7 separate regions of the Homo sapiens genome follow, and all the other regions are linked to region 1. Evidence: promoter capture Hi-C in 16 types of primary human blood cells and fetal thymus (Javierre and others, 2016). All regions are on one chromosome and are shown on one strand. Each heading gives the region's core, a stretch centred on a gene start or on the middle of the fragment in contact. The rest is flanking DNA. Distances are from core to core; before and after follow the strand shown.

Region 1 (3,906 bases), core at 1,339-3,838:
AATCCTTTTCTTTGAATAAGAGATAAGACTTTGATAGTCTTGTGTAAGCAAATATCAGTGATCACACATACACTAGAAAAACACTTGATCTTTATGCCTATATTACTTACTGTTTCTATTTCTGATGTCTAATCTAAACAGCACTGCTGTTAGGATCAAAGTGACCATCCATGATGCACAGAGCACGTACCAGGGTAAAGTTCCAGCTGGGACGCAGGCATCAGCAATTGTAGAATTTGGGTTCTCCCTTCCTCAGATCCCTGACTGTCCTTGGTCATTCAAGAAAGATTCACTGTCCCTAGGCCAAGAGTCAGGAGCAAAACAGGAACACCAAGGGTATGGTCTGAGGATGTTGTCAGCAGGGAGCAACGTGCGTGTGTGTGCACATACACTAATTCTGAGACACTGTGCACAGCCCAGCTTTCTTGGAAAGCCATTTAAAAGATATATATGTGGCAACAGAGAGGAGGAAGTCTCAAGATTAAGAACAGCTTTTGAGTGTGTGTGTGTCAAAATATTCATTCCTATCACATGCAGTAAAACTGTATTCCAGAGCCATTAATACGCCCTGGGGGACTGAGGGGATTTGCAGCCTAAGATTTCAGACTTAAAGCCCGCTAAGGCCCTGAGCGGGGCAGCAGGGCAGGAGAAGGAATGGAGCGTTGAAGGGAACATTTTATAGACATTCTCCCTCATAGTGGCTGTACTAAGTAAACAATTAACGGGCACAAACTGCCACTCCAGTGTCTAATAACTACCTCTGCCAGAGCACCTGCCAGCGCCACCACCTTCCAGGTGTGTGATGCACATCATCTCGCTGAACTATGCTAGCCTCAGGAGAGGGTTGCTCTTTATTTTACAGGTGGGAAAACAGGGGCTTGGAGAGGTCAAGGAACTTGCCCAAAGTCACAGCATAGAAGTGACAGAATCCGAGTTTTGACCCAGATTTGATGGGTTCCAAAGCGTGAACTTATTTCTCCACTCCACAAAAATAAAACCTACTCTTCTTACAATATTTGAAAGAGCCCTCTTCTACCACTCTGCTGTTTGTTTTAAACACAGCTTGCTTATCTGTCTGGCATATTCGGTAGAAGTCTGTACTTTGTCAATGCCTGGTTTGCCTGGATTTCAGCTACCTGGCCCCTGGCATCTAAGCCTGGGTGAGAACAGGGAATCCACTCCTCTCTAAGATGCATCGTGGAGTTACTCTTTTACTCTTCCCTGAAAGTGATAGTTCAATCTTCAACAGGGGCTTTGAGGGAGAACAAACTCGACCCTTTGGCAAGCACGACTTCTGGCTTCACCGTTTTTTTGTTTTTTGTTTGTTTGTTTGTTTTTGACGGAGTTTTGCTCTTGTTGCCCAGGCTGGAGCGCAACAGGGCGATCTCGGCTCACTGCAACCTCTGCCTCCCGGGTTCAAGCAATTCTCCTGCTTCAGCCTCCCGAGTAGCTGGGATTACAGGCATGCGCCACCACGCCCGGTTAATTTTTTTTTTTTTTTTTTTTAGTAGAGACGGTTTCACCATGTTGGGCCAGGCTGGTCTCGAACTCTCGACCTCAGGTGATCCGCCTGCCTTGGCCTCCCAAAGTGCTGGGATTACAGGCGTGAGCCACCGCGCCCGGCCCTGGCTTCACCCTTAAAGCAGAAAGGCCAGAAGTCATCAAGGCCATGGGTTTACTAGCTTAGCTTCCCCAGACTTAATTTCAAACACCAACAACCGAAATGTTTCCTAGAATGCAGAGCTAATGAGACATCAACCTCTGTCATTTCCTATGTTTTTCACAATGTGCCAAAACAACTGCACACATTGGAGGCGTTTTTGAATGTGATATTCAGGCGACCTTGCCAAGCATTGTCTCATTTCCTTACTTTGTGGAGCATGAAACCCAAGGGAAGTTCTCACCCTCTCTCCAGGACCAAGCAGGACACTGGGAGCTGCTGTCCCGTCTGCAGGCGGGACTCCATGAAGGCCCCTGTCTGCCCTTCCAGCCTTTGCCACAAACCCTCGAACGCTGGCTGCACACTGGAATCACTTGGGGAGCTTTTAAAAGATACGGAGGCCTGGGTCTGACTCCGTGAGATTCTGATGGAATTGATCTAGGGTGCAGCCTGGATATCTGGATTTTAAAAGCTCCCCAGGTGGTTCTAAGCTGCTGGCACGATTGAGAACCCCTGCGTTCGACCACAGTGGGATAAACGATTCCGCTGACTGTGAAGTTCATCCCTCTCAACTTTCGCTACATGCTTCAAACTCGCGGGTTTCTCCGCTTGGTTCCACCCAGAGCTCCTCCAGAGCCGCGCTGCGTTCCGCCCGCACGCAAATCCCGCCTCCCTGCGCCTCCTCACTCGCAGCGCCCAGGACCTCAGAAAGGGCCTGCCCCGCGCGAATCCCCAGTCGCTGGGACTTACTTGGCCACCAGGTTTACAGACTTCGCAGCCGCTGAGAGCTAGAGAAGAGCCCGGAGAGCGCCATGGTCCGGGGACGCCGGGGCCGGGAAGCGCCGTGGCCCGGGAGGACGCTGCTCCCGCAGTAGCGCGAGGGAGGGGCAGGACCGGGGCGGCTGCCTCGCGGGCCCGGAACGGGAACTGGCTGCGACTACAGCCGCAGCCGCGCCCCTCTGTTGGCGCGCCCAAGAGCCTGCCGGCTGCTGGGAGAGGCCGCCGAAGGGCGGGGGCGGTCAAGGCAGGGTCCCACGGTGCTGCCATTCGCCCGGGTCTGGCGCGGGGGGGCGAGAGAAGCTGCGCGCAGAGGGACGCCCGGTGCGAGAGGGTGAGCCCCTGGCCACCGCGCAGGGCCGAGTGGACAGGCCCAAGTTCGCCCAGAGGTGACACACTTGGGAATTTGTGGTGCCATCGTGCCAGGTCCCTCCTCGTAAAAGTGCCTACCCAGCGCCTGCAACCAGAGCCAAAGCCTGGACATGATAGGGAAACTCTTGTTAAAACGCGACACGTGGTCCTGATGAAATGGAGGTTAACGTAATCAAATTTAAATTACACTGCATACATTTCAATTTATACTTTTTAAAAAATGTAAGCTTTTCTTCCTATCCTTAAATTTGTTCTTGGCAGTGTACATTTTATGTTCTATGCATATGCTCTAATAGGTTGTAAAAGAGTTTTAACATGCTAATAAATGTCCCCAATAAAATAGTTTTAAAACGTTTTGAATGGGGATCGTGTCCATAAGGGATATCATGCTACAGAAAGTTGTCACTTACTCACACTGAAGAAGTACATTCAATCATATAGCCACTGATGCTTGTGAGTATTAAAATTCCCATCAGAGGCTGCCCTCTGAGAAACAGAAAGTATGTTCTTAAATCAAAAGTGAAAGTGCAAACTAAAGTTGATAGGATCAAATGTGCCAACTTGTGTCAGGCCTCTGAGCCCAAGCCTGCATGTATACATCCAGATGGCCTGAAGCAACTGAGGAATCACAAAGGTAGTGAAAATGGCTGGTTCCTGCCTTAACTGATGACATTACCTTGTGAAATTCCTTCTCCTGGCTCAGAAGCTCCCCCACTGAGCACTTTGTAGACCTTCCACCCCCCCGGCCCCCGCCTTGCCCACCAGAGAACAACCCCCTTTGACTGTAATTTTCCACTACCCACACAAATCCTATAAAGCTACCACACCCCTAACTCCCTTTGCTGACTCTTTTTTTCGTACTCGGCCCACCTGCACCCAGGTGAAATAAACAGCTTTATTGCTCACGCAAAGCCTTTTGGTGGTCTCTTCACACGGACACGTGTGACATTTGGTGCCGAAGACCCGGGACAGGAGGACTCCTTCAGGAGACCAGTCCCCTGTCCTCACCCTCACTCTGTGAGGAGATCCACCTATGACCTCGGGTCCTCAGACCAAACAGCCCAAGGAACATCTCACCAATTTCAAATCGGGTAAGC
Region 2 (3,418 bases), core at 477-2,976, 260 kb after region 1:
TGACTTGATGTTGGCTGGGGCAATGGCATGGCACAGCCCTCAGTGTCCAGCAGGCCAGTCTGGGCTTTCCCACATGCTGGGTGATATGGTTTGGCTGTGTCCCCACCCAAATCTCGTCTTGAATTGTGGTTTTCATAATCCCCACAGGTCGTGGGAGGGACTGGTGGGAGGTATTTGAATCATGGGAGCAGCTACCCTCATGCTGTTCTTGTGATACTGAGTTCTCACAAGATCTGATGGTTTTATAAGGGGCTTTTCCCCCTTTTGCTCAGCACTTCGCCTTGCTGCCATCATGTGAAGAAGGACGTGTTTACTTCCCCTCCTGCCATGATTGTAAGTTTCCTGAGGCCTCCCTAGCCATACTGAACTGTGAGTCAATTAAACTTCTTTTCTTTATAAATTACCCATTCTCAGGTATGTCTTTATTAGCAGCGTGAGAATGGACTAATACGCTGAGGGCCACAGGGTTCCTAAGAGCCGCAAGGAAGGGAACAAGTCCCACTGTGAAAGCGCTTATTTTTTAATAGACTTTGTTTTTTAGAGCAGTTTTAGGTTCACAGCAACACTGAGTGGAAAGTTCAGAGATTCCTCATATGTTCCCTGTCCCCACCCCCAACTATTCACATCCCCCACCAGAGTGGTACATTTGTTATAATCAATTAACCTATGTTGACACATCATTATGACCCAAACTCCATTGTCTACACTAGGGTCCACTCTTGGTGTTGTTCATTCTATGGGTTTGGACAAATGTATAATGTCACATATCCACCATTGTGGTGTCATATAGGATAGTTTCACTAACCTAAAAATAAAAATCCTCTGTGCTCCACCTGATCATTCCTCCTTCCCCCAAACCCCTGGTAACTACTAATCTTTTACTGTCTCCATAGTTCTACCTTTTCCAGAATGTCATATAGTTGGAATCATAGAGTAAGCAGCCTTTTCAGATCAACTTCTTTCAATTAAGAAAGTTTGTTTCCTCTGTGTCTTTTCATGGCTTGATAGCTCATCGTTTTTTTAAGTCCTGAAAAATAACCCATTGTCTGGATGCACTATAGTTATGCATTTATCTGGGCAGTCCCAGATATCCTGGTTGCTTCCAGGTTGTATCAATTCATAAATACAGATGCTATAGACATTTGTGCATGAATTTTTGTGTGGACATGAGTTTTCAACTTCTTTGGGTAAATACCAAGAAGGAAGAGAGGGGACAAGCTCCAGTGTGTAAGCACTTTTCAAACCTCTGCTTGCATCACTTTTGCTAATGGCCAAAACAAGTCATGTGGTCAAGTCCAGATTAGGAACAGGGAGATGGTGGAGAGAAATAGCTCTACCTCCTAATGGAAGAAGAGGCAAAGTCATATTGCAAAGACTTGTGCCCACTGGAAAGGGAAGAATCTGTGGTCGTTTTTGCAATCGATCCCATTCTGGTACATGCTTGCTTTTTGAAGTCTTGATGTTCTGCTTAAAGCATCAAGTTGTTACATCATGGCCCATTTGCGATATAAAGAATAAAACAAAGCTATTGGACTAGATGGCTTCAGAAACTGCTTAGTTCAAAAGGTGAAGTTTGCAGCAGCAGAAGTCTATAATAAGTTTCACATATTCAATTTATTTATTCAACATGTACCATGTGCTAGGCACTAGACACAACCACAAACAAGGGAGAGCAGTTTCCTGCCTCAGAATTTCTATGTCACTGAGAGACAGAAAATAGAATAACATGTGAGATGAAGGAAATAAATGGGTGATGTGATAGTGAATGGAGAAAGAGAGGGGGAAACATCTACTCTATGTGGTAAGAGTAGGGATAGGTACCTTTTGAGCTGAGATGTGGAATATGAGGAGGGAGCCAGGAATGGAGGCTGCTAAAAAGGACCTCCCTTCTCTTCTGCTTTCTCTTTCCCTTCTTGTTTCCTGTCATCATCTCTCTATTTCTAGATCAGTGCTTCTCAGACTTTAATGTATGTATGAATCACCTGGAGAGCTTGTTAAAATGCAGATCAGATTCAGCAGGTCTGGGCTGGGACCCGAGATGCTGCATTTCTAATAAGTTCCCTGGTGATGCTGCTGCTGCTGCTCCTTGGACCACCCTTTACACAGCAAGAACCTGGAGGTGGGGTAGGTGCTGAGGCGAGATAATAGAACCAGAATCAGGGCAGTGGCGGGGCGATGAGGGCCACTAGGTGGATTTGAGAGCTGTTTAGGAGGTAATGTCAAGGCCTGGGGAAGCTGGTGGTGCAGACCAACGGTGACAGAGGAAGAGGCTAGGGTGGCAGTCATGTGTCTGGCATGGATAAGGGTTGCACAGGAGTGTCCTTGCTGGGCTGGGGAGAGGGGAGGAGAAGCAAGGCTGGGGGACCAGGAGATGGGCAGTGTGCCTTTGGACCTGCTCAGTTTGAGGGTCCTCGGGCTAGGCCAGTAGAGGCAGCTGGATACTGTAGTGGTGGGGAGAGGACAGCAAGTAGGTCTGAAATACAGAGCTGCTCTATAGATGAACTTCTAGAAGGAGTGAGTGATTCTTGGATGCTCCCAATGACATATCAATAGAGGCAGCACAGATGGCTCCGTCATGGTTCAGAAGACCTTTTCGAATCATTCAGGAGCCTAGGCCCTGAAGGATCTAGGACATCAGGGATCATCGGTCTACACTCAGACACCTTATCATACAGTCCTGCTTTACTAACAGTGTGAAGCCTGGGCTGGGGGTAGGTGGAAAGGAAGTACTTTGTGCTCTGTTCCCTTGGTACCCAGAATGGGTCTTGGATCAGCAACATCAGCATCCCTAGGGACATTTCAGAAATGCAAATTATTTGCCCCCCTCAGATCTGCAGATTCAGAATCTGCATTTTGACAGACTCCCAAGTAATTCGTGAGCTCAGTACAGTTTGAGAAGCACCAGCCCAGGCCAGCAGTTCTCAATCTTCCATACATTTGAATCACCAGGGGAGCTTTACAAGGTGCTGATGCCTGGGTGGCATCTCCAAGAATTTCTGATCTAATTGGTCTGGGGTAAGGCCAAGGATTCAGGACTTTTACAGCTGCCTAGGTAAGTCTAATGCATATCCAGGGTGAAAACCCCTGCCCTGGCACCACCCAACCTTTGACTGACTACAGCTGGCGATATTGAAGGTGAATGACATTGTAGAAGTAACTTTGCATCTTTGGGCCTCAAGTTGGAAACCTGCAACCCCTCTAACTACCCCCATCCCCATTCCCATGTGCCTGGTGGGAGCCTGGAGGAGGGCAGGCAATGTGGGAGGGTTCTGGGCAGTCCTAGAAAACTCAGCCGTAAAGAGCCAGCTGGTTCTTCACACAAGCAGCTGCAAGCCCCCCCACCAGGCCCCTACTGCCTGCCAGGCCAAGACAGGGAACTGCCAAGGTGAAGAATCTGAGAGGGCATCCTTAGTCCTTG
Region 3 (3,530 bases), core at 972-3,471, 320 kb before region 1:
GATCCGCCTGCCTCGGCCTCCCAAAGTGCTGGGATTACAGATGTGAGCCACCGTGCCTGGCCTAAACCCCCTTTAACCTCAGTAGGGAAGGCACCAGGTTCAAGAGGCCAAAGAAGAGACCCAGAGCCAGCAAACGAGACACGGGGTTTTACCGTACTGACATACAGGGGAGAGAGTCCAGCAGCAGGGGCTGGGCAGGAGAATCGCCTTACATGCAGTCCAGTGGCGGCAGGCTGGACAGAAGAACCACGTGGTCCCGTGGTGGTGGGCTGGGCAGGAAAACCAACCTCCTGCAATCAGTGTGCAGTGTATATAGGATTTTCACTCAACACCCTCCCGCTAATGACCTCCACCTGGCAACATTCATTTAACCCAGAACTCAGGGCCGATTTTAATCCCCTATAACGACCCATGTTCCCTGGGATAGGCCATAGGCTCACGTGTTTCTTATAGATAAGGAGTGACTCTCTTGGCCACTCCCAGTTTCCCTAGTTCCTTAGAGATAATATAGCTAGATTACATCACATCACATCACGTGTAGTTACATAAGGCTCCATAGTTTGCAGATCATGGCTGCCTTCAATCTCTCATGTCATCTCCATAGTTACTCTGTGAGATAGAGCAGGTATCATGGCGCTTTACAGAGAAGGACATTGAGGGTCAGCAAGGTGGTGACTTGGCAGAGGTCTCCAGCTAACTAGAGCTCTGGCCTCTGGACTCTAGTGCCAGTGTCTTTTTCCACACACCCTCTCAATAAATCTGTAGACCCTACACTAAGGTGCCTCCAAATTCCAGAAGGCCACAGAGAACTGCCTCTCCTCTCCCCTTTCCAGAAGGGCAGTGAGTGAGCAGCTCTTGAAAGAGCAGTCAGAAAACTTCCAGCCTGGGGACCTGTCAGTAGATGTGCTGGTTTCATCTGAGGTAAGGTAGGGAGCTGGAAAAAGGAACTGCAGAAGAGAGGTGGTCATGGCTATGTGCTTGGTTTCCTGGGTCTTTTTCAATAAGGTACCCTAAGCTGAAGAGAGGGAGGGTGTTGAGTGCTACCTATGGTTTGGGTCAGTATGAATCACCTAGGGGTGTTATGGAACAGAATCGCCCATGGTACATCTCTTTTGGATAAAGATGGCAAATATGCAGATGCACACCTCAGCTGCGCCCTTTTCATGCAGGACAGCCATTGCTAGTTGACCACAGTGTTTTCCACGGGGCCTCAGAATCCTGAAACTCCAGGCAGCCACTCCCTGTCAGGTCTGTTAAGTGAGAGGGAACCAACTGGTCATTTCTCTTTAGTGACATCCCTTCAATACAATGAACAATTATATATATTGTTTAGGTAATTTTGGAGTTCCTGGTGGTGGCGATAGTATTTATATTTTACCAGCTATTTAAATGTTACCACTTATTTGACACTTTTACCTTGCTATGTCATCGAGCAGCTCTCCAAATAAAAAATTGACCACCAAGTGTAGTCATCGACGTGCCTTACGACTAGTCATCTTTTCTCTCTTTAGAGGCAAACTTGGTTTTTTATTCCATTTACTAAAATCTGCAAGGGAGACAGGAGCCGGAAAAAGAGACTTTCTTCTCCCAAGCACACTCAAGATTGGAGCACCCTCTCCGGGGAGCTGAGAGCGCTCTTCCTGCCCTTCCCCTCTACATCCGCAGAGTCTCTGAGGCAGCTGTGGCATGCTCAGCTCTAAGGGGCGAGCGTGTGTCTGCAGTTGACTGTGTACGCCTTGGCAAGCCACAGGCAGAGTGTGACCAACAATGCCTAGCAGATGATTTTGTCCTGAATGTGTTCATAGGGTGCTGGGAGACCTGGGAGAGCTGCAGCTGGAGAACTTCAGAGTGAAGGCATTATTTTCATCAGGACTCTGCTTTCTCTTTCCCCATTTCAGCCGTGGAGGGAGTGAGAGAGGAAGGGGGTGGCAGGACACCAGGGAGGCAATGCAATTGAACAGAATGGTCAGTCTTCTTTTTACTGTCTTGATGCAGTTAGTGTTTAGATCATTAGGGCCACTCAGTGAAGGTGCTTGAAATTGATGGCCCTGGACACCCCTATGTAAGAAGTCCTTGGGCCACAAACAGACTGTAGATCTCATGAAGGCACCAGGAGACAGAAGCCTGGTTATCACAGGCAGGTCCGACAGCTAGGGTTGTGGCTTCTTGCCTGCACCAGGAGGTGGTGTTCATACTGATCAGGCCTAGCAAATGGCACTTGGTTTCTAACCAAAGACCAGCCAGTGCTTTAAAAAACGATGTTTATTTTGAACGTCCCACATAATTATACAGCAATTGGAAAATACAAAAAGATAAAAAGGAAAAAATTACCCATAATCTCACAATCTTAAAAAAAACCTTAAAATTGGGGTGTATTTTACTGAAGTCTTTTTTCTATGCATATGTGTATAAATTTTAAGAACTCCGGGTCAGGTGTGGTGGCTCATGCTTGTAATCCCAGCACTTTGGGAGGCCGAGGCAGGAGGATTGCTTGAGTCCAGGTGTTGGAGACCAGCTTGGGCAACATACTGAGACCCTGTCTCTATTAAAAATATATATATACATACACACATATATAAAGAAACTCTGGGTCAGGCATGGTGGCTCACGCCTGTAATCCCAGCACTTTGGGAAGCTGAGGCAGGCAGATCACAAGGTCAGAAGATCGAGACCACCCAGGCCAACATGGTGAAACCCTGTCTCTCCTAAAACTACAAAAATTAGCTGGGCATGGTGGTGTGCGTCTGTAGTCCCAGCTACTCAGGAGGTTGAGGCAGGAGAATTGCTTGAACCCGGGAATTAGAGGTTGCAGTTAGCCGAGATTGCGCCACTGCACTCCAACCTGGCAACAGAGCGAGACTCCCTCTCAAAAAAAAAAAACTCTGTCATAATAAAAGTGCAATTTTGTCATGCTTTTTTTACACTTATGTGCATCTTTTTAATGTCATCAAGTCATTCAAAAATGCCATTTTGAGTGGATATATAAGATTCCATTTCAATAACACCATAACCATTTTGCTGTTGAACATTTTAGTTGTCTCTAGATTTTTAGAAATGTGTTATAAATAATAGCACCAATAAATAATAGCACCGTGTGTTTTTAGGACAGAAAATACAGAATCAGTTTTTGACATCTTGGTGGGACAGTGAGCACAGTTCATTTCATACGACTGCTGACATCCCAGATGTGTGTGTGGGCACATAGCTAGCTCTCTGTGCATATGTGGTGCCACATTTTGATACTTAAAAATAGAGACTCTCCAGGCTCCCCAGTAAAACCTAGCCCTTTGGGCACTAATCCATTGAAAGATTGACATTTCCGTCTAACAAGTTTATGAAAATCATTGTAGGGGTGGTTGACGGGGAAGTCTGCAGCTGCTGGGTTAAGTACTCTTTAATGTGGATCCGATGCCTTTGGTTGTCTTCCTGCCTGTGGGCCATTTGGCGCTCACAGCTGCTTTTCTCTTGTTCTCTCCCTGTAGTTACTGGGGCTTCCGGATGCAGATGACGATGCGTTTGAAGAGTACAGT
Region 4 (3,743 bases), core at 255-2,754, 300 kb after region 1:
ACAGCCCCCACCTGTGATGTGATTCCATTGTGTTACATTGGGCAAGTCAACCCCATCTCCTGGTTTCCCCATCTGAGAGTGAAGGGAATGAATATTAGCCTTTTGTTTACATTTTTTCTTTTGTTTAATTTTAAAGCTTCATATACTATGGTTCCAAATGTAGGGCCAAACCCAGGACTCCTGTGCGCGAGTCCTGAACTCACTCCTTATCTGCGAAATGGCCTGAAAACTTCAGCCTTCACTTAGCCCATGGGGCTGTTGTAAGAATCAGAATAATATTAATTATTGCAAAGGTGATGTCAAGTGTAAAGGTTATATGAGAATTATCTTGGTGAACATCAGGAATCGTTTGCTTGTGCTTTATGAGAACAGCGGGTTTTGATTTAAGATGGTAAACAGCGATTCAGCTTTCTTCCCTCAGGGCTTAAAGAAGACATGTGTGACCATGGACCAGGAACGCCCACGCTCTGACCTCAGCATAAACAACAGAAATGATCTTCGAAAGGTTTTGCATCTTGAATTTCTCTATAAGGAGAACAAGGTATGTGCTTTCTAAGGTGTGGTGTGGAGTCTTGGAACTGAGTTTGGCACTGCCAAAGCACTCATGGGCCCTGCCAGTGACAGGAGAGGCTTGAGGTTCTCCTGGCCTGTCACACTTGCGGTCAGAGAGAAACGGACCCCCCAAATGTGGACAGATCCCCAGCGGGAGTGGGTTTTCCATCTCGGTCAGCTGGTGCCGCCCATTGGCGTGTTGTGTGTGTGTGGTTGTCGGGCTCATTTTGAACAGAGCCTGTGGCAGTGCTCAGCCTCCCGCAGTTATTCCCTGTGCTCCCTCCTCCCAACATGAGGCTATTTTTAGTAAGACTGTACTTAAGAATATCGTATCCAGTTATACTAAAATTTTCCATGCCCTGCTTATGTAAGAGTTTCCTTCTTCAGTTCTGAGTAATACCTTAGTCTTGAGTCTCCTGTGACATATAATTTAGGTAGAGGAGGGAATTGGGTTCAGCTAACCCAGGTGCATTAGAGTTGGAAAAGCAAATGGAACTGTGTTTTCTTGGGCGGGAAGGGGGCTTCTCTGATCCCCCAGACTTGATCTCCCCCAACCTGCTATTATAGGCTTTCATGGCACCCTCTAGTTTTCCTGTTTTTGTGTTTATCACATTGGCAATAGAATATTTATGTGATTTTAAAATTAGTATCTGCCCCCCGCCAATACCTTGGACACAGCAGAAGCCAGAAATGCAGTCTTTTTTGTTCACTATTTTATCCCCAAACATAAAGTGTTGTCCGATGGCATAGTGAAATATATTTGTGGAATAAATGAATGAATGACTATACGAATGAATGAAACTACACTTTCTACTTAAATTTTTAATTTGTTATGAAGACAGAAAAAGAATGGGCTGTCCAGCAAATGTTGCTGTGTGGTTGGGCATAGTGTCAGAGTCAAAAAGAAAATGATATAGTTCAGCATTTATCACAATTTTTTAAAAAAGCAATAAAATGATATCTCATGTGGAAGTCCAATATGCAAAGCAAAGAAGGGAAAATGCCCTATTTGAAGTGGGGAAAAGGAGGTCTTGCTTTATCGTCTAGCCTCTCAGCGTCCAGCTTTAAACCACTGATCAATTCCCTTCTCTCAGGAGGGGGAGCTGTGAGCCAGAGAGAGTTGGCTATCCAAGGTCTCACAGTCGGTTACCAGGTAGGGATGAGGCTAGAACCAGGTGTTTTGATTCCCAATTCTATTGTAGGAGTGATGATCAAGCATATTTTAACTGTAATCCTTTTTTCAAATGAGACTTCAGCAGATTGGATTCGTATGGTGGTAGGACCAAGGCTATTTTTTAAGACACCCAGAAGATCCACTGAACCACTTGAAAACTACGCAAGTACATGTCATAGGCCAGGGAGGAACCTATGCCAGGCATCTCTCAATAAAGTAAAGGATGGAATTTCAGGCAAACATATAAACTAAAAACAACTGGCACCTACAGGAGCACTCAGGTTGCCAGAAATTCTCTTGCTCCCCTTTGAGGAGAAGTAGGCAATGGCAGCCCCGTGAAGTCTATCAGAGGCTCAGTGAAGACATCAAATAGAAGGCCTTTGTCCTCTGGGTCCTGGGGTGACATGCAGGCACCTCTGTCTCCTGTCCTGTAGCAAGTACTTTCTAAGTCCTGTGGAAAGACTGGTGACCCAGGCAGCAGATGCTCTGCAATCCTCCGTCTGCTGTATTCTAAGGCAGGAGAGTGGACTGTACACTTTAGGAGAATTTTGCGCAGAGAGTGAGACAACTACCCAGAAAATTCAGTTAACCATTCTGGTTACATTGGGCTTTTAACGTAAATGTACCTTACCTAATTTCCCAAAAGTGTCTTTGACATTCAAGCTATTTTTATTCCCTCATTGTAATATAGTCTCCCTAAAGTAGTTGTTATCTTAAGATACTTAAGATATTTTCATGAGATACTGATAAGTGCCCTGATTTATACAGCAGTTATTAGCTGTTATACAATGAATCGGAGTGTATATTTTACAGGAAAATTACTCATTAATATCTACTACATAATAATTTTGACATTCATTCAGCACAAAGCTCGCCTGATTCCAGGAAAGCCCTGCAATTTAATGTTAATATTTCTAGTAACTTGTTCTAACCTCTTAGGTATAGGATAGATAAAAATGCCTATGTAAATTGAGATTTTGAAAAACAATATCTAGATTCATATAAAGGCTGTGTCTGTTGTGAGCCAAGTGATGTGAAAAAGCATAAGGGATAGTCAGGCAATTCAGGGGCTTAAGTCTCTCTTACTGAGAGAAAAAGCAAGAAGGCTACAATAAATATAGGATCTTTCCCCTAACTCTCTTTATTGTAAGCTTCATTTAATCTTAGACAAAATAGTTTTTGTTTTTAATCTCTTACTGAAAAGAATAGTAAAACTGTCCCGGGTTTTGTCTGATGAATCTGTTGAGTTTGGTTGTAGTCCATGGGCTGTGGGTCTTAGTCCTGGAGTCCTGCTGCATGGATGAGAGGAGTAGGAAGGGGGAGGACTTGGCATGCCCTGAGGGCCTGCTCTGCCAGACTCCTTGTCAGGTGCCTGGCTAGTCTGCAAAATCACAGAGTGCCCCATGTCCAGCCACGGCTCGGCAAGACTGGGTGTCACTGGGCGAGTGGGTTGGGGACTGACACATGGCTGGGTCCCTGAGGCCAGCCTGCATATTGCTGCATGCATAGCTGTGTTTATCCAAATTACTTAGGGGAATTTAAATCCTTGCTGTTGTGGTGTAGTAAGTGTCAGTAAGGTGAGAGAATCTGTATTTTTAAAAAACATCCAAAGGGAATATTTGATATAGGCAAGGATGGAAAATACTGGTATCGTTTAATTCCAAAACCTACTACTGAAGACTTTCATTTGCCTTTTGTTTTTAAGGTTGGGGTGTAAAGTGAGTCAGTCCTGACTGCCTCTCTGTGCTCTTCACATTGACCTGCTTCAGTTGTCTCTATCATCGCTGGTGTCAGTGTTAGATGCAGAGCTTACAAGCTAAAAAAATATTCAGGCTGCAAATACTTATGAATCTGTAGGGTTAGTGTTCCCTACAGACTCCGTTTTTTAAATGAAGGGATATATATTTTATAAAGTTATTCCTTGGAGCAAAAAATGAAGAGGAAATTTGCTTAGGCATGCCTCTATTCCTATCACATTTTATTCTAGTTGTTTATTGAATCACCTGCCTCATGCGTT
Region 5 (3,372 bases), core at 495-2,994, 260 kb before region 1:
TAAAAAATAGTGACAAGTAGGATAGCTATTAATCCAATATACCAATAATCTCTTTAAATGGCAATGGTCTAAATAGATAAATTAAAAGACAGAGATTGTCAGAGCAGATCAAAAAGCAAGATTCAACTCTATGTTGTCTATAAGAAACTCACTTTAAATATAAAGACACATACAGGTCAAAAGCAAAGTGATGGCTGGACATGGTGGCTCACACCTGTAATCCCAACACTTTGGGAGGCTAAGACAGGAGAATTTCTCGAGCCCAGGAGTTCAAGACCAGCCTGGGCAACATAATAAGATCCTGTCTCTACAAAGAAATTAAAAAGAAATTAGCCAGGTTTGGTGGCATGCACCTGTAGTCCCAGCTACTTGGGGGGCTGAGGTGGGAGTCGGGGAGGTCCAGGCTGCAGTGAGCCATGATTGTGTCACTGCACTCCAGCCTGAGCAACAGAGCAAGACCCTGTCTCAAAAAACAAAAAAGAAAAATGATGGAGAAAGATATACCATGTTAACATTAATCAAAAGAAAGCTGGGGTAACTATATTAATTTCAGACTAAGTAGGGTTCAGAGCAAGGAAAATTATCAGTGATGAAGAGGGTTATTACATAATGATAAAAGGATCAATTCTTTAAGAAACAAAACAATCCTTATTGTGTATGTGCTTAACAACAAAGTATCAAAATATGTGAGGCAAAGACTGATAGAACAGCAAAAACAAATACATGAATGCATTATTATAGTCGGAGACCTCTATCAGAAATGAACATATGCAGCAGCCAGAAAATCAGTAAGGGTATAGCTTATCTCAGTGACATCATCAATCAACTGGATATAATTGACATCTATAGACTACTTCATTCAACAACAGCACGATGCACATTCTTCTCAAGCTCGCATGGAACATACACCAACATAGACCACATTCCGGGCCATGAAACACATCTTAACAATTAAAAAAAAAATAAAAATGATACAGTGTCTGCTTTCAGACCACAATGAAATTAAATTAAAATTGACAACATAAAGATACCAGGAAAATTCCCAGATACTTAGAGATTAAATAACACATTTCTAAATAACACATAGGTCAAATAAGAAATCTCAAGAGAAGTTTTAAAATATTTTTTAACTAAATGGAAATGAAAATACAACTTCTCAAAATTTATGAGATGCAGTGAAAGAAGTGCTGAGAGAGAAATGTATAGCATTGAATGCATATTTAGAAGAGAAAAAAGATCAAAATCAATAATCTAAGCTTCCACCTTAGGAAATTATTTAAAAAAACAAGCAAACTCAATCCAAAGTAAGCAAAGAAAAGAAATGATAGAAATTAGAGCAAACATCAATGAAATTGTAAACACAAAATCAATAGAGAAAATCAAACCATAAGCTGATTCTTTGAAAATATCAATAATAAAATTGATAAGTGTCTAAACCAGACTAATGAAGAAAAAAAAGAAATAACACAAACTACTAATATTAAAAATAAAAGGGGATATCACTACAGGTCCTGTGGATATTAAAAGAATAACAAAGGAATACTTTGAACAACTCTTCCCACAAATTTCATAAGCTGATAAAATGGATGAATTCCTTGAAAGACAAAATCTGCCAAAATTCACACAAGAAGAAATAGACAATCTGAATAGGCCTATATCTATTAAAGAAATTGAGTAACAGTTAATAACTTTCCAAAACAGAAAGTGCCAAGCCCAGGTAGGTTCATGGGTGAATTTTTCCAAAATTTAAGGAAAAAATCATACCAGTTCTCTACAATCTATTTCAGAAAATAGTGGCAGAGTGAATACTTTCTAACTCATTATATGAGGCTAGCATTACCCTCATACTAAAACCAAAGACATTACAAGGAAAGGAAACTACAGACCAACACTTCTCATAAACATAGATGCAAAAATTTTCAAAAAAATTTGGCAAATCAAATCCAACAATGTATAAAAAGAATTATACTCCATGACCAAGTGGGATTTATCTCAGGTATGCAAGTCTGGTCCAATATTCAAAAATCAATTAATGTAATTCATTACACCAAAAAGCTAAAGAAGAAAATCACATGATCGTATAAATAGATGCAGAAACAGCACCTGAAAAATTCCAACATCTATTCATGATAAAACTCTCAGCAAAGTAGGAATAGAGGGAAACTTCTTTAACTGGATAAGGAACATTTGCAAAATACCCACAGCTAGCATCACACTTAATGTTGAGAAACTAGAAGCTTTCTGCTAAGATCAGGAACAATGCAAGGATGTTCTCTTTCACCAATTATTTTCAACATCTAACTGGAAGTCCTAACTAATGCAATAAGACAAGAAAAAAAGATATATAGATTGGGAAGGAAGAAATAAAACTGCCATTGTTTGCAAATGATATAACTATGTATGTAGAAAATCTGAAAGAATTAACAAAAAACTCCTAGAACTAATAAGTGATGATAGCAAGGTTGCAAGATACAAGGTTAGTATACAAAAGTCAATCATTTTCCTAAATCCCAGCAATGAATAAGTGGAATTTGAAATTTAAAACACAATACTATTTACCCCAAAAATGAAATACTTAGGTATAAATCTAACAAATCATGCACAAGATCTACATGAGGAAGAATGCAAAACTTGGATAAAAGAAATCCTGGACGAACTTAATAAAGAGATGTTCCATGTTCATGGATAGGAAGACTCAATGTTGTCAAGATGTCAGTTCTTTCCCAACTTTATCTATAAAGTCAATGTGAAGTCAATGAAATCTTAGCAAGTTAATTTGTGGATACTGACAAACTGATCTAAAGTTTATATGGAGAGGCAAAAGACCCAGAAGTAGCAAGTCAACATTGAAGAAGAACAAAGTTGGAAGACCAACCCTATGTAATGGAAGATTTATTATAAAGCTACAGTAATCACAAAAGTGTGGTGCTAGTGAAAGAATAGACAGATAGCTCAATAAAACGGAACAGAGAGCCCAGAAATAGACCCACATAAATGTGGCTAACTGATCTCTAACACAGAAGCAAAGGCAATACAATGAAGAAAAGATAGTCTTTTCAACAAAGTGGTGCTGGAACAACTGGGTATCCACATGCAAAAATATAAATCTAGATACAAACCTTAAACCCATCACAAAAATTAACTCAAAATAGATCACAGACCTAAATGTAAAATGCAAACTATAAAACTCATAGAAGATAACATGGGAGAAAGTCTAGATGACCTTGGGTTTGGTGATGACTTTTTAGATGTAACACTAAAGGCACAATCCATGAAAGAAGAAACTGACAAAATGGACATCATTAAAATTCAAATGTTCTGCTCTGTGAAAGACACTGCTAAGAGAATAAAAGGATAAGCCATAGACTGGAA
Region 6 (3,930 bases), core at 875-3,374, 350 kb before region 1:
GCCCTCTACTTATCCTCCCCGCCCCACTGCTGGGCTCACTGTTCTGGAGCACAGTGCAGGGAGAAGACAGCTCTCATCCCTCCTGTGTTGCTCTCCTGGGAGTTACTTCTCCAGATCCTATGGTCTTTTCACCTCTCCCATCACAACTGTGACAAATCAAACACCTCTCTCCTGACCACCGTCTCCTGGAACCTGGGGTCTACAGTCCCTCTTGATACAATGAGACGACCTTGCGTTCAGGTGAAGGGTGAATGTGGAACCAGCTACGCTTCCCTCTCTGCCTACCTCCTCCTACTGCATAACCACAAGGCTATGTGGATGGAGCAGATTTATCAAAAACTAGGGCTAATTTAACGGACTTACAATATAGGAGTGAATCAAAGGTCAAATTATATGTTAACATCAAACTTACACTAGAATAAAAGCCATGGAGAACTTCAAAACAGAGATGGGCAGAAGAGTCAGCATTAGCAGGACAGTCTAGGGTGGCCTTTGCATTCCATACTGAGCTCCTGATGTCCTAGCCAGTGGGGTTTGAATATGTCTCCTCTTCTTGCCAACACACATCTCCCAAAGGCAAATGGTGATTTTCAGAGACAGCAAAGTCCAGATTTCTATAAATGAACAGAAACGTTCCTTAAATACAATGAAGACTGTACAACTCTGCCTACTGGTGGGGATAAGTTTTTTTGTCTGTTTGTTTTGTTTTTTGAGATAGGGTTTCCCTCTGTCACCTAGGCTGGAGGGCAGTGGTGTGATCATGGCTCACTGCAGCCTCGACTTCGAGGGCTCAAGGGATTCTCCCACCTCAGCCTCCCAAGTAGCTGGGACTACAGGCACATGCCACCATGCCCAGCTAATTTTTGTATTTTTAGTAGAGACAGGTTTTCACCATGTTGCCCAGGCTGGTCTCAAACTCCTGGGCTCGGTGATCCACCCACCTTGGCCTCCCAAAGTGGTGGGATTACAGGTGTGAGCCACCACGCCTGGCTGGGGAGAAGTTTTAATTTTCCTTCTACTTCCAAACCATGGCCAAAGGCTATGGGAACACAAGAAAGGGGGTATGGGTAGCCCTGGTGTTTCCTCACCTACTGGCTGCACAAAACACCTGGCTAGAGTTCTGAAATGACCACTGCCCTGTGCATGAGGCCTAAATACACCCCTACAACCTGGGATGCCTCACAGGACTCTCCCCAAACAGGAGGGAGGCAGGGCAAAGGTTTATGATCTTCTTAGCTAAGCAACTGGTGGCTTTACCAGTTGTTCTAAGGAAACAAAATTTCAAGCAACTTCTGCAGATGAACTTTCCAGGATGAATTTCAGCTGCTTTATGTGCATACCCTTTCCACTAGTTAGTAAAAATGACCAAAACACGACTGTTGCAAGACTTTTCTCTCTAAATCTGTGGTTCTCAAGTAGGGGTAATTTTGCACTCAGGGGACATTTGGCAATGTCTGGAGAAATTTTTGCTTGTCACAGTGGAGAGAGGGGAGGGTAGAGGGAGATGCTACAGGCATCCAGTGGGTGGAGGCCAGGGAATGTGGCTAAAAATCCTGCAATGTGCAGGACAGCCTCCAACAACAAAGAATTTTTGGCTTCAAATATCAATAGTGCTGCTGCTGAGAAACCCTGCTCTAAAGACTTGGAAAAAAAAATGAGATTTAGGTTCATCTGTGACCAATATTACCAGTCATATCACTCCTGAATTTCACTTTAAAAATTCATTAGCTGATCTTCTTACACATCATCCCTAAGAAGTAGATTAAGAGTAATAATGGCATTTACTGAGTTCTTACTATGTGCTAGGTTCTGGGATAAGGACTTTATATACTTTATCTCACTGTTGTCCCTGTTTTCAGAAAAGAAAACTGAGCTCCGAGCAATGAAGGAAGTTGCAGATGCACATAAAACTTAAAATGGCAGAGGGAGGAATCAATGCAGACATGGAGTTCTGAAGCTTTTGCTGTTGCTCTCAGTGCATTTCTAAGGAAACCCAACGGTATCCATTTCATTGACCAATTGCTTTGTACCCAAAATTTTATTTTTCATAAGAGTTTTTCATTTTCTGACAAAAACTATTTGTTAAATAAACATAACTTCATAATTCTGATCACATCACTTGGAGCAAATTTGACTGATACATTTTAAAACACATGGATTAAAAAAAAAACTCCTTCTTTCCCGAAAAAGGAAAAAAGGAATGTATTTTTCATATTTTCATCTCCAATTTAAGGAATTCATTTTTGGAACACATATTATGCTTTAAATGGTGGTGCCAGGTAAAACTGCAAGGAAGCTTGTGCTATCTGGAGACACCCATACTTTTTTTTTTTAAGGACCATTTTGTAACTTTACAACAGCATATTGCATTTTTATATTCATGTGCCTGTCTCCTTCATTGTCCTGTGTATTAGTTTTCTACTGCTGCATGAAGAATTTAAACAGACCTAACAGCTTAAAACAACACCCATTTAATAGCCCACAGTTCTGAAAGTCGGAAGTCCCAGCACAGCCATGGCATCACTGGGTTCTCGCTCAGGTTCTGCGAAGGCTGCAATCATGGTAATAGTCAGGCTCAGTTCTTGTCTGGAAAAGACAACAAGTTTGAGAAAAAAATCTGCTTTTCAAGCTCATTCGGGTTGTTGGCAGAATTCAGTTCCTTGCAACATTGGCCTAGGCAAATAATTTATGACTAAAACCCCAAAGGAAGTGCAACAAAAACAAGAATAGACAAATGGGCCTTAATTAAACTAAAAAGCTTCTGCACAGTAAAAGAAACAATCAACAGAGTAAATAGACAACCTACAGAATGAGAGAAAATATTTGCAAACTACGCATCTGACAAAGGACTAATATCCAGAATCTACAAGGAACTCAAACAACTCAACAAGAAAAAAAAAAAACCCATTAAAAAGTGGGCAAAGGACATGAACAGATATTTCTCAAAAAAGACATACAAGTGGCCAACGAACATATGAAAAAATGCTCAACATCCACTAATTATCAGAGAAATGCACATTAAAACCACAATGAGATACAATCTCACACCAGTCAAAATGGCTATGATTAAAAAGTCAAAAAACAGCAGATGTTGGTGAGGGTGCAGAGAAAAGGAAACATATATACGTGTTGGTGGGAATGTAAATTCGTGCACAGTGCCTGGTTCAGAAGACACACTTTACAGAAAAAAGCTGGCTGAATGTTTATAACGTGTCTGTGTTTGTAGTGTTCAAGTCCTGAGGGCGAGGACCCTAGTGCATTTTCTGCAATCCAGTAATGCCTGTCCAGTATATGGCAGCCAGTGAGCACTCAACAGGTGCAATCGTTGGGCCACACACTCTTGTTTTAAAATGTGCTTTATCCTCTTGACCTTTTTAGGTTATGCAATGTGAATTCAAGCTGAATAATACTGAAGCCAGTCTTATGAGGCTCATTTCTAAGAAATATTCAGCTTTACGTAACGCAAATAAAAAATCACACACGCCCTTTGCAAGTGAACATTCATATTAGTGTCTGATAAATGCATTAAGAAGACACATTCCCTTAAATCAATCGGAGAACAGAACTTTGGTTTCTGCAAAAAGAAAAGCTCCCTTTTCCTTAGATTTTCTCAGCTCCTCCACTGCTAGCCCCAGACAAGGTCCAAGTTATCTGCAGTTCTATGGCCTCCCTTGCATTTAAATCGCATTTGGGCAAACGCTTCCTGGGCTTTCTAACTCCACAGAAACGCTAACCAGGTATTGGGCGCTCGCACCGCTTCCAGGTAACCCGCGGAGCTGCGGATTCCAGGCTCGCGCTGTGACGTCACCGGGCTCGCAAGCCGCGGCGCGGTCTCAGGCTCCGGTGATTGGCTGGGGCCCATGACGTCACGGCCCGGGGCGGCACCGCGATGGCCAGGGCCCCGGGATGCTCCGGGTTTGTTTAAAAATA
Region 7 (3,652 bases), core at 171-2,670, 280 kb before region 1:
ACGAAGGGTCCCCAGTTGGAAGAGAGAAAGGGAAAGGGGAGAGAGGTCCCTGTAAGAGCCAAAGAAATATTGTAGGTGCGAATAGCTGGGGCTGGTGTCATGGGCCATAAAGGAATTTACCAAGACAGTTGTAGATAAAGAAAGGCAGATTTATTAGAGAAGCTATGAAAATACGTTGCAAGGTTGCAATGAGCAGCACAACAGAGAAGTGACTGTCTGCAAATAGGCAGGGGCTGGAGGGAAGTTTTATAGGGTCATGCTGAAGGGGGCTACATGTGGAACAATGTCATTGTGCCCACCAGTTGTTTGTGACTAGCCATCTCTCAGAAAAATTGGTCATTGTTCTCCCCAACCTGGGGCTCCTTCCTCATTGTTGCTTACTTATCTTATCAGGACTCCGTAAGACTATTTGAAATTTATAGTGAAAACTATGTATATTTCCCCATCTAGTCTAACAGGTTGTAGACTTATTTCAAAGTAACAGCAAATAACACAAATATTTTCCCAAATCCAATATTTACAGGAAATGCACCAGTCTCTGATCTGCCCCTGATGTAAGTGTCAGATGTGCTTCCAGGGCTGTGGCCCATTCCTGTGGCTGGCCAAGGGTCCAGCCTGACCAACAGAACGTTGCTGTAACTCTAGGAATGAGTGCACACTCAACCTGAGCCGGGGCTTATTGGCTGTACCTCAGGGTTGCCAGCCTTTGTCAAGCTTCCTACTTTGTGGTCCTTCTGGCCTACACTCCTACGGCAGATGGTCAGGGTCACCTTTCATGAGAAGGGAATATGTATTGGTAGCCAGGGGCCTGCATGCCATTTCTGGCACAAACACATTGCAGGTTGCAAATCCCTGCTTCACCTTTATGAAAATGGTATTGATGACCTTCAGGGCAGAGCAGTGTTTTCTTAAAGTAGCTTCTGTCCAAAGGTAATAGACATTATTTGAAAATAGGATTCTGTGATCAAATCTCTTTAGCAGGTCAACTTCTCAGAGTCTGTAATATGCAACAGTGCATCATCATACATGTCCAAGATGGGGGTATTTATAATATGCGATGTGAACTAAATTCACTTGGCCACTGAACACTCTGACCCTGATAGGTCCCAGTGATGCTGCTAGGTGGAACACGCTTTAAGGAATGTTGTGTGGCACACCTCTCTTCTTACAATATATTGTTCTGTGGCTCTGACCATCTTGGTTTGGGGTTAGAGAAAATATTAGCTTGTCTAAGCTAAGTGACTGAGAAGCAGCAATTTGCAATCATTATGGAGGCAGCAACTCATTATTCCTGTAAATTTCCAGGTAAAGAAATCAATGGCTGGGTTGTTGCCACGACTTATTTCAGAGCTGAGTTTTTCTGGCTTTGTCTAAGGTCCAAGTTGTTTCTTTTATTTATGATTTCTTTTTTGAAATACAAGCACAAACTTCAAAACCCTAAAAGATGGTGGAGACTGTGTAAAGTGCCTTAATGTCTTTCCAGGTGAAAAATCAGTAGCAAATTCATTATTACATTATTTCATCCACCTGCTATTTAGTACCCACTAGGTACTGAGGCCTACAGAACATATAAAGTTGAATAAAGCAAAATCCCTACTCTTTATTACATTCTATGCCAGCTCTGTCTGATGTCTTCAGCCATTTATGGTCTAGAAAATGTTACAGTAACACATTTATAGATAAAGGGACCCATCTGGAGATGAATGAAGTAAGTGGCTGCCACAGATTTGCTGCTGTGAGGTGAAAAACTGTTCCAAGGCAGCAGGATAAGGAAGGAAGATGATTACTTCCTTTCCACTTAATTTCAAAAGATCTGAAATAAGGGCATGGGACCCATCTCAAGATGAGTTGTTCAATAGATGTGAGGATCCAGGCTTGGAAATGTGAGCATTGTGGACAAAAGGAGGCTAACTCCACCAACAGCTCAGAGCCAGTGATTCCAGGTGATCTAAACCTCTTTGTTCACTGTTGAAGACAGCATCTCTTAGATTTCCTAAATCCCACCGTTGGGAACAGCCAAGCCAGTGTTTCATTACAATCTTGGCCCTAAAACAGCATAGTTCATCCAAGAATGACAGGGTTTTATGAACAGAAATTAGGCTTTGGACCAAGTTTGTAATAAATCTTAAGCTTCATTATATAGGTGAGGAAAAATGACCAACTGCTGGATGACAGATTTGCCATGGAGCAAGAGAATAGACTCTGTGCCATTTCAGGAAGGTTCCACGGCAGATTTTCACTGACTTGTGGGGTGACTTTCTTTGGGGGCAGTAGTGTGGAAGGAGGATAATAAAAGGCAAAGGATAAAGAGAGGAGCAGTTTGGGGTGGATGTTCCCTTCATTCACTGCTCCATCAAAATCACTTGAACCCCCAATGAATGGTAGCATTATATGATGCTTAATACATCTTAAAGGAGAAAACCAAATCATTTTTTTTCTATTCAAGTCTAATGAAGATCTATGTGAAAAATGGAGTTTTCTCTCTTACTCAAAATGAACAAAAGGTCTGTTAATAATGTTAGGATGTGACCTCACTGAGGTTAAAAATATTTGCTTATGTAAAAAATGGCAGGTAAACCATTCAGGACTAATGTAAGCAACAAGAAATATAAGAGAGAAGAGGAAATGAAAATGCAGTGGCAACAACAGACTTGGATTAACACCAGTATTTTCAAAAGAGCCCAAACAATTTCAGATTCAATAGAAACCACTTTGCCAAGGACTCCGATGCATTTCATCTATCAGCAGGCTTGCTGCCGTTTCCTAAAGAACGCCCCTGGGATCTGCCGTTTCCCCTTGGTTCCTATGCCAAAGCCAGCCCTGTTCTCTCTTCCTCATACTGTAGCCATCATTGTGTGGCCACAAAGCTGCCAGGTCGCTCTGTATGCTGCCACTGTTATAAACCACCCTCATGCACTCATGCATTTTTTTCTCCATCTGTAATGAAGGACATTACAGATCATTTATGAGATGACCATTGCTGAGCCTAAACAAGGAAACTCAGACTGGTCCTGGGTTGTTTGGTGACCTGCTGAGGCCCACAGGCCCACAGATATTTGATTTCTTTTTTGGAATCTTTTCTTTTTGGAATCTTTTGCTCTGACTGAGAGGGAGACGTGATGCCTAGAGTTGGGGAGTTCTAGGTCTCATTGGAAGGGATGTGGGGGGCTGTGCCCTTCTCTGGTTCCATGGACAGTTTTCTGAGCTCTTCTAAGAAAGAAGGGTGAACAACAGAAGCTGGGGAAGTTGCTTTTATAAAATGACCCATGATGCTGGGGTATGACTATATGATGGAAGGTGGAGGTGAGATGCCCAGAGAATGCTGCTTGGTCTTCCCCTCCCCGCCCCCAGGTGACAGTGTGTTGCAGACGTGTTTCCTACTGCTACAGAAAACTCAGCCTCTGCCTGGTCACATGTGGCATGGCAGCTTTGAGAACAGAAGCCTGTGATGAAGCAACTACAGGTTGGCCAGGAACCTGGTATAGATTAATGAGTGGGTAATCATATACTCTATCTGGGAGTATATGAGGGAGAATGAACTCAAAACATTGAAAAGAATGAGCCAATTGGGAATTTGAGACAGAGACTGCTAGGGCCCACCAATATCTGGGTGCTCTGCTCCTTCTGTGGGCATAGCTAGACAACATTTCCC

The links. The method cuts DNA at HindIII sites, captures the fragments that hold promoters and counts their contacts. A CHiCAGO score of 5 or more calls a contact.
Region 2: a contact is called between a fragment that was not itself captured here and the fragment with the promoter of NOD1 in region 1, in 6 of 17 cell types (non-activated CD4 T cells, naive CD4 T cells, activated CD4 T cells and 3 more). The highest score is 9.2, in non-activated CD4 T cells.
Region 3: a fragment that was not itself captured here is called in contact with the fragment with the promoter of NOD1 in region 1 in 16 of 17 cell types (total B cells, naive B cells, naive CD4 T cells and 13 more); the score reaches 24.8 in total B cells.
Region 4: a fragment that was not itself captured here is called in contact with the fragment with the promoter of NOD1 in region 1 in 4 of 17 cell types (activated CD4 T cells, total CD4 T cells, non-activated CD4 T cells and 1 more); the score reaches 7.3 in activated CD4 T cells.
Region 5: a contact is called between a fragment that was not itself captured here and the fragment with the promoter of NOD1 in region 1, in 9 of 17 cell types (naive B cells, total CD4 T cells, total B cells and 6 more). The highest score is 11.9, in naive B cells.
Region 6: a fragment that was not itself captured here is called in contact with the fragment with the promoter of NOD1 in region 1 in 11 of 17 cell types (naive CD4 T cells, total CD4 T cells, total B cells and 8 more); the score reaches 19.7 in naive CD4 T cells.
Region 7: a fragment that was not itself captured here is called in contact with the fragment with the promoter of NOD1 in region 1 in 10 of 17 cell types (total B cells, naive B cells, non-activated CD4 T cells and 7 more); the score reaches 18.2 in total B cells.

What each region holds. Positions count from the first base shown.
Region 1 is chr7:30,476,196-30,480,101 of GRCh38, forward strand. It overlaps NOD1 (nucleotide binding oligomerization domain containing 1), which reads right to left and starts at 2,589. Exons shown (of 14, transcript NM_006092.4): 1 at 2,411-2,589. RefSeq lists an enhancer at 2,085-2,829 and a silencer at 2,478-2,717. The HindIII fragment of the contact is 7,069 bases long and covers 1-3,034 here.
Region 2 is chr7:30,736,553-30,739,970 of GRCh38, forward strand. All of the region lies in intron 1 of LOC105375220 (a long non-coding RNA gene), which reads left to right. Among named protein-coding and RNA genes, the nearest start is that of INMT, 14 kb to the right of the region's middle. The HindIII fragment of the contact is 4,303 bases long and covers 1-3,418 here.
Region 3 is chr7:30,153,956-30,157,485 of GRCh38, forward strand. MTURN (maturin, neural progenitor differentiation regulator homolog) reads left to right here. Exons shown (of 3, transcript NM_152793.3): 3 at 3,483-3,530. Among named protein-coding and RNA genes, the nearest start is that of MTURN, 21 kb to the left of the region's middle. The HindIII fragment of the contact is 6,470 bases long and covers 1-3,530 here.
Region 4 is chr7:30,778,011-30,781,753 of GRCh38, forward strand. MINDY4 (MINDY lysine 48 deubiquitinase 4) reads left to right here. Exons shown (of 18, transcript NM_032222.3): 2 at 422-541. INMT-MINDY4 (INMT-MINDY4 readthrough (NMD candidate)) reads left to right here. Exons shown (of 20, transcript NR_037598.1): 4 at 422-541. Among named protein-coding and RNA genes, the nearest start is that of MINDY4, 8.5 kb to the left of the region's middle. The HindIII fragment of the contact is 2,741 bases long and covers 135-2,875 here.
Region 5 is chr7:30,217,117-30,220,488 of GRCh38, forward strand. All of the region lies in intron 1 of LOC124901607 (a long non-coding RNA gene), which reads left to right. Among named protein-coding and RNA genes, the nearest start is that of ZNRF2, 66 kb to the right of the region's middle. The HindIII fragment of the contact is 981 bases long and covers 1,255-2,235 here.
Region 6 is chr7:30,130,870-30,134,799 of GRCh38, forward strand. LOC105375216 (a long non-coding RNA gene) reads right to left here and starts at 3,845. Exons shown (of 3, transcript XR_927146.3): 1 at 3,735-3,845; 2 at 2,448-2,586; 3 at 1-614. The HindIII fragment of the contact is 339 bases long and covers 1,956-2,294 here.
Region 7 is chr7:30,198,737-30,202,388 of GRCh38, forward strand. It overlaps LOC124901607 (a long non-coding RNA gene), which reads left to right. Exons shown (of 3, transcript XR_007060274.1): 1 at 1-3,652. Among named protein-coding and RNA genes, the nearest start is that of MTURN, 66 kb to the left of the region's middle. The HindIII fragment of the contact is 1,416 bases long and covers 713-2,128 here.